2 separate regions of the Homo sapiens genome follow, and region 2 is linked to region 1. The links are contacts of gene promoters, found by promoter capture Hi-C in blood cells and fetal thymus (Javierre and others, 2016). All regions are on one chromosome and are shown on one strand. The core of a region is centred on a gene start or on the middle of the fragment in contact, and the rest is flanking DNA. Distances in the headings are between cores, read along the strand shown.

Region 1 (3,799 bases), core at 905-3,404:
CCTGACCTCAGGTGATCCACCCTCCTCAGCCTCCCAAAGTGCTGGGATAACAGGTGTGAGCCACTGCACCTGACTTTTTTTTTTTTTTAAAGAGACAGGAGTACAGTGGTGCAAACACAGCTCACTGCAGCCTTGAACTCCTGGGCTCAAGTGATCCTCTTGCCTCGGCCTCCCCAGTAGTTGGGACTGCACCATCACACCTAGCTAATTTTTAAAAATTTGTTTTGGTAGAGACGGGGGTCTCACTATATTGCCCAGGCTGGTCTCAAACTGCTGATTTCATGTGATCCTCTTGTCTTGGCCTCCCGAAGTGCTGAGATGATAGGTGTGAGCCACCATGCCCTGCCAGGCCAGATACTTAACCACTACCCTGTATTGGTTCTCTTTGGAAAGGGATAGGATATTTCCTGAAAACTCCAAATTCACTGCTTTACTTGCCTGGAATAGAAGAAAGGCCCAGTGAGTTAACAGTCCCCAAACACCTCTCTAGTCCCTACTCCTAAGCTCTGTGAGCTCTTGATTACCGGAGCAGTGTATCCTTGCCCAGGCTCATGCACAGCTGATTGCTGGAGACGACAAGACTGGTAATGCGCTCGGAAGGGGTGAAGTCAATGCGCTGCTTTGTGAAGATGGGCACTTCCTTCTCCAGCTGGGCATTCACATACCCTACAGGTAAGGAATGACAAGAAGATTAGCTGTGGAAGAGACAGGTGAAGGGCAAGGAGAGGCAGAAAAAACACCACAGTGCTCCTCGCCACTTTCCTGACATATTCCTATCCCCAGGACCTTGGTTAACAAATAGTTTGATATCAAGTCGTTTGCTGGTCACCTTTACAATAGAGGTCTGGAGCTCTTTCCACACTCTGACAGCAGTGAGGGGTTGATTCTTTGAACCCTTAAGATGCTGTCACAGCATGATATACCTGCTCCCACTGGTAATGGGGCTGCGTGGAGGTGGGACGGGACTGGTGGTCTGGGTATTCTCCCTTATCAGGTCTTTGGCCCAGCAATCCCAGCTTAACTGAAGTAGTATAGCCCCATTCTCTGCCCCCCTCCCTGCCCATGCGGTAATGAGCCTCAGTGTAGAGTTGGCAAGTGCTGGGATATTTTGAGCATTGAATGAAGGTAAAGACTAGAGTGAAAGCAGCTCCAATTCGTTAACTCCACTCACTGGAACAGTTCCCCAGGGCTCCCTATGCCCTCATTCTCCTGGAGACTCACTACTTTCTACAAAAACGTCCCCAAACTCCAGGCTGCACCCAGCTATAGCCAAGGCCAAAAAGATTTCATCTCCATTTTCCCCGTTCAGCGACAAAATTCCCTCTGGGACCCTCCCTTCTTCCTCTGCAATACTCCGCCTTCACCACTTTCTTTGTCCATTCCTTCCCTCCCACCTCCAGAAGGGGCCTGGTGGGAAAAGCATCAGCAGAAGCCGGGAGCCCATTCTAAGTTCTCCCAACAGCCCAACTGCGCCCTGTAGGTGAGTAATTCCTTATCTGGGCCCCAATTCCCTCTCAAAAGGACCCTAGCGGTAGAGCCTAGATCACGCGGCAGCTCCCGTTGCTCTTTCAAACTTCGACTATCCACCAGCTGGGGGCCAAGAGAGCCTGAGGAGAATCAGGGGCCTAGACCCGGAAGGCACGGCCCAGGGGATGACCCCGAGCTCTTGGAGCTGCCCTCCTCGCTGCTCCCACGCAAATGCTAGGAGAGCCGAAAGGGGCAGCGGCACCCTCCTCTTCCTTACCCGAGTGGGGGATGCCCACGCTAGGGCAGCCGGGCTGCAAGACGGCCGAGCGGGACAGCGAGTTCTCGTACTCATCCAGGATGGACGCCATGGTGCCCGGCCTCTGGGCTCTTTGTCCGGGGCCTGGGGATTACAAAAGGGCTACCCCCCCGGGGTCCCCGTCGCCCCAGAATGGAAGCTGTAACTCCCCAGCCTCTGACAGATCCTGGGAACCTGCAGCCGTCGCCTCCTCTTTAAAATCCTGAGGATCCTCTTGCTCTTGCCTTATGCAGCGAGATAATCGGGCAGCCCTCGTCCTTGAATCTGGCGCAGTCTTGCACCTTACTCCCCGCCCCCGCTACAAAAAAATCACAGGCTCCCTTCAGCCGGTGCCAGGTGATCCCAACCTCGCCCCGGCAGCTCAGCTGACTCCCGCCCCCGTGACGCGGGCCTAAAACGTAACTTCCGGGTTCTCAGAGCCCCGCGTACGCTGGCGCACAACGTCGCCGGGCCAGCCAGCAGAAGGCGAGACGAGGGCTGAGGGCTGGGCGCGTGGCGAGTGCTGCTGAACACAAGCCCCGCCCCCAGGATCCTGCTGCAGTTCCGAGCTTTGACACCAGGAGGCAATCCCGGCTTTCTCAGCCGGCCTTCCCCACCCGCCCCGCGCCGCCCAGTTTTGGCTTTCGTGCCCAAGCTCCGCTCCCTCGGGTGGTCTGTCCAGCCTCCCTGACCAGCTCCCGCTCCCGCCTCTCTAAACAGCCTCGGGGAACCTCCCGTTCCTCAATCCAATCGCTGTCTCTATCCCACCGTCACAGGGCACACGCAGACAACTCCTGGCCACTCTTCTCCCTTACCCAAAGGCCCCCCAGCTTCCAGGAGACCGCAGAGCTGGTGGCCAGGCTAGTGGGAAGCCCTGTGCCAGGAACCGCCCTGACCTGCCCCACAGTGGCTCCTTGGCTCAGGGTTGCTGGGCCGCTTCCATTCACTCATTCACCAAAATGTGGTTGAGCACTTACTCTGTGCCAGGCCTTGGGCTGGGCGCTGGGGTCACAGAGATGAGGACAGCCCCTCCCCGCCCTGGAAAAGGTCGTAAGCCAGCAGGGGCGCTGGACCCGTAAATAGACCATTCATACTAGAAAAGCAAGTGATGGATTATCCATCAGGCACTTACTCCACGAATGAGCGTCCACTCTGTGCCAAGCACTGTTCCAGGCTCTGGGGACGTGGCAGAGAACAAGACGGAAAATGTCTCTTGCCTGGTGGGGCGTACCCAGCGACGTGGCCACGGCACTGAGAGCGTGAAGGAGCAGGGAACAAATACCTGCCAAGCCTAGCAAGAACGAGGGACAAGTGGGAGCAAGCGTGAAGGCGGGGGCCGCCCAGCCTGAGGTGGAGAGGGGAGTCCTCAGCCAGGGACCTGCGAGGGCTGGGGCGCGACTGTGGTTGGGTTTTCCTCTCTCACCTGCTTAGGCGACCCAGATGGAGTCTGTTCCCTTCTGGGGCCCTTGGATTCTACCTTGCTAAAGTGGAAGGCTCTGGACTAGGGTCGCCACCGTCCTGGCTCTGCTGGGCGGCCCCCGCCTAACAACTAAGAGCATCCCTTTGCTCTCAGAAGTTTCCAGGTTTGCACCATACCTTATGTGGTTGGGTTACTCTTGCTCAACTTCCTGGCCACGTGCGGAGAACTGTGACTCTCACCAGCCCCACTGAGGGCTATCTGGGCTCTCTGGCTTGGAGGGGCACTAGTCCTGGGGCAGGTGACAAGTATGCTGTCCAGGCTCATTTCCCTTCGCACCAGGGTCCTGCTTCTCTTGACCAAGCCTGCAGCCTCAATGCAGCCTTCCCACCTGAGGTTGCCAGGTCCCAGGAGGGAAGTGCAGGAGCAGGACAATAGGCAGGAGGCTTCCTCTAAGAAAAGTGATCCCAGACAGGGAGCTGCCCTGCTCCATACATAACACTTCACCCCCAGGTCACCTGCCATCTGCCCTCAGGTCTGGACTGTGCAGAGGGTTGTCCCTGCTGCACAGAGCCCATTAGCAGTTGGAGGTCAGCATAGGAGTGCTGCCTTAGGGACAC
Region 2 (3,799 bases), core at 490-2,989, 920 kb before region 1:
TCCTAAAATCACCCAACGCAAACCCAAATCCCATATGTCCCTCCTAACACCCACTTACTGAGACTCTCCACAGTTCTCCATGGGGTGGGGTCTCCTTGGTTGCAACAAGTACCAATAAACCCAAATTCTTCTGTCTAAAGAGGTGTTCCCAATAATCTTTGGGGCATCAATACACTCTTCACCTGCTCCCTGAGGCACTGACAAGAAAGACTGGGCAGGGGTAAGGCTACAAATGGAGGAAGGGGGGCCCACATAGCTCACCTGGCCTCGGTGACGCTAGCAATGTCTGTCCCCAGAGCATGGGGTCGGGGCAAGGTGCTAAGGAAGTGCAGGTTAGAGGGGTTGAAAAGGCGCACGGTGCCATCAGCACAGCCACAGAAGATGTAGTCTTGGCTCACAGAGATGCAGTGGGCCACTGTGGTCTGTGGGCAGAGTGGCTCAGCTCAGCAAGGCCACCTGCCCACTCAGTCTTCTCTCCTCCCCACCCATCAACAGCCACCTGCCAAGAGGAGGGACCGGCCAAGGCAGGGGCAAGGGAAAAGCCGCCCAGCTGCCCTGTTCTGAGCCCCTCAGCCCTGTCCAGCCAGGGATTAGGAACCGAGGATTCTTCTAGGCACCAGAGGATCCAGTAGGAAAAGCCCAGTGAAGAGAAAGAAATAGCATGAGAAAGAGAGGAAGGTGCAGGCACCACTTACTGTGAAGCTGTCTATGTTCTGAGCGGAAGAGGAAAGCAGGGGAAAGAGACAGAAAGAGCAGAGAGGAGGCAGTTATACAGATCACCAAGGGCTGGAAATGGGCCAAGCTCTAGCTCCCCCAAGCTTCGTTCTCCTGGGATCTCCCGTATGCACAAGGGACCAGCCCCTAGTCTGAAGCCCTGGGCACTAGTTCTCCCCTGAGCTGAGACATGAGCAGACCCTACCCCTGGGGACGGAGGTACTTACCCTCAGCTCCACCCACTTGTCCAAAAGCCTTCGATCACTGAACTCGCACAGCAGCCCTGAGGACGTGATGCAGAAGGTACTGTCCGCCTTTTTTCCTCTGCCACAGGCCACATCAGTGAATAGGTTGTTCCGTAGCTCTCCCAGCAGCCCTGAGCGGCCCAGCAAGGGCACAGTGGCATTCACCTGTGGAGGCACACCACTGTTACACCCCCATCCACCCCAGAGCCTGCCCCTGGAAACTGGGCCCTAGGAGAGTACAGGGGACGCCTCCAGCACCTCCTTGCTCTTTGGGCCTACTCCTCAGCCCAGACAGCATCTGGCTCATCCAAAACTTCTGCATGACTGCTGGGAATGCAGAGAGAGGCCCAAGTGGGGCAGAGTCTCCTGGGTTGGGCTGGGCAGGCCCTGCCAGGGGCCTTGGTGGCTACTCCCAGCTTCAGCACCTCACCTTTGAGGTCTTGCTGTCATCGAGATACCAGAATTTGATGTGTCGGTTGCCTGCAGTGACAAAGTAGCTGCAATCCTCAGAGAAGGACACTGCTGTCACCCGACTGGACACCTTGTTGGAGGCCACCACAATGTTTTTCTGGAGGGGATGCCAAAGGAAGAATCAAGGCTCTGTCTCTTGGAGCTAAGAAGACAGTGACTCAGAGAATGGAGGAGAATTAGAATTTGTACTTGACAAAGTGTTTCTTTCCAGAATTTACTGGCCAGAAAAAGAGGGGTAGGGAAATAATCCCTTTCTAGAGGAGCTGAAAAGATTCGTTTCCTGCAGAAGTCTTTGAAGGCATAAAGCTAGCCCCTTCAACCAACATGCTTGGCCACACAGTTGCTCTTTTCTGCTTCAAATAACTTTCTAGAATGAGAATGGTTCAGTGGGGTGGAATGGAGCAGTGCAGGTCAGCAGTCTCTTGCCTCCCCAGCTGACACTTGACCCCTGTGAGGCTGCCAGGCCACCCCACCCAGCCACTCACCTTCCAGGCCCACACGTTGACGATCATGTCATGCTGGTAGCCCACAGAGACAATGTACTTGGCGCTAGGAGAGAAGGCCACACAAGCCACACCATACTTGTGCTCCTGCAGCTCGGCCACCTGGCTGTGCTCTGCCACGTCCCAAACCCGCACGGCAGGCATGTGCCCACTCTGCAGGGAGGCAAGAACTGGAAGTGAGTTCTTGACTTCTCCACAGGCATACAGCCCCACTTCGTCTTCCAGAGCGGGGCCCTCGCCTCCTCAGCTACTAGATACCATCACTTCCCCAGCCAAAAGTCAGGGCAGGGTATAGAGGAAATATGATAAAGATCTGAGGGCAACAGTGATTACCAGGAAGAAAGTGGCCCCGGATTTTAGTCAGCATCTCTGGGTGGCCGTCTGTACTTCAGGTTGTTCAAAGCTCCCTGAATGGTTCTGATGGGCAGCCGGCATTGAGAGCCACTACCACTCAGGTCTATTTCTGCCCCTAGTAAGACTACGCCGCCAGGACAGAAGCGTTCCTCCTGAGCCCAGCAGGGGGCCCCCGGGGGTAAGGAATAGTTAAGGCAGTGGTTTCCAAAGCACGCTTCCTTCACCAGCAGGATCAGCACTCTCTGGGAACTTGTTACAAATGCACATTTCAGACTCCCATCCCAGACCTACAGAATCAGAAACTCTGAGGACCAGGCTAGTGATGTGTGCTTTCACAAGCCCTCCAAGTGATTCTGATGTACACTAAAGCTTGAGAACCACTATTTTAAGGTATAGCGAAAACCAGGATTTGGTGTCTGTTTCAGAAGCCAAAGTGACAGCAGGCCTAGGACCGCAGCTCTCTGCGGAGGCCAGGACACCTGCCCTCTTTACAGTACTGCCAGCCCTCTTCCTCACTCACCTCTCCAGTGACCAAGTACTTGCCATCAGGGGAGAAGGCAAGGGCAGTGATGGTTTTCCTGCAAGAGATGGGGCAGGCTCAGAGGGGCACTGGCAGCCTGGCCTAAGCCTAGCCCCCTCCCAGCCTCTCAAAAGGTGAGACCAGCAGACACCAATGGCACATGTGGCACTTCCCCATCTGGCTTTAGGACCCAACCAGGTCCCAGCCCCCAGAGCCATAGAGACTCTAGACAGTGCCCTTCTCATAGCTCCCAGAAGGAAGAGGTATCCTGAGGACCCCAGCCCATTTACCTGGAACTGTTGAGGATGTGGTGCTGTTTGTGTTTCCGGGGATTGAACAACACAACCACACACCTGAGGAGATGAGCAGACAACAGGCTCAGCAGCAAACCACAGCTCCCCCAGGAGCCCTCCAGGCCACCCAGGACTTCCAGTCACCCGGCAGAGGGAGCTGGGTAGAAAGAGCTCAGAAGGGCTCCACTGTTTTTTTCCTTTTCTTTTTTTTTTTTTTTTTTTTTTGAGACAGGATCTTACTCTGTCATCCCAGCCAGAGTGCAGTGGTGCAAACATGGCTCAGTGCAGCCTCAACTTGCAGGTTCAAGCAATCCTCCCACCTTAGCCTCCCTAGTAGCTGGAACCACAGGCATGTGCCACCATGCAAGCTAATCTTTGTATTTTTTTTTTTTTTTTTTTGTAGACACGGGATCTTGCCACGTTGCCCAGGCTGGTCCCAAACTCTTGAACTCAAGTGATCTGCCTCCCAAAGTGCTGGGATTACAGGCATAAGCCACCGTGCCCAGCCTCCACTGCTTTCTCCTGGCAACCTGTTCTTGCTCCTTTTCCCCACCCAAGAGGAACTATCTCTGTAGCCCCATGAGGGTGAAAGGGTTCCCTGGAAGCCTGTCCCCCCAGCCAGGCCCCTAAATACCAGCTCTATCTCTGGCCATACCCACAAAGGGCAGCAGGGACACAGGCCATCCCGCAGCCCTTGTG

Evidence for each region. The method cuts DNA at HindIII sites, captures the fragments that hold promoters and counts their contacts. A CHiCAGO score of 5 or more calls a contact.
Region 2: a fragment that was not itself captured here is called in contact with the fragment with the promoter of VPS18 in region 1 in 1 of 17 cell types (naive CD4 T cells); the score reaches 5.5 in naive CD4 T cells.

What each region holds. Positions count from the first base shown.
Region 1 is chr15:40,892,805-40,896,603 of GRCh38, reverse strand. It overlaps VPS18 (VPS18 core subunit of CORVET and HOPS complexes), which reads right to left and starts at 2,154. Exons shown (of 5, transcript NM_020857.3): 1 at 1,745-2,154; 2 at 525-666. The coding sequence starts at 1,835. RefSeq lists an enhancer at 1,339-1,428 and a silencer at 2,269-2,438. The HindIII fragment of the contact is 16,460 bases long and covers 1-3,799 here.
Region 2 is chr15:41,810,244-41,814,042 of GRCh38, reverse strand. MAPKBP1 (mitogen-activated protein kinase binding protein 1) reads right to left here. Exons shown (of 31, transcript NM_014994.3): 4 at 3,098-3,160; 5 at 2,808-2,865; 6 at 1,916-2,086; 7 at 1,390-1,527; 8 at 942-1,124; 9 at 262-422. Among named protein-coding and RNA genes, the nearest start is that of JMJD7, 16 kb to the left of the region's middle. The HindIII fragment of the contact is 1,838 bases long and covers 821-2,658 here.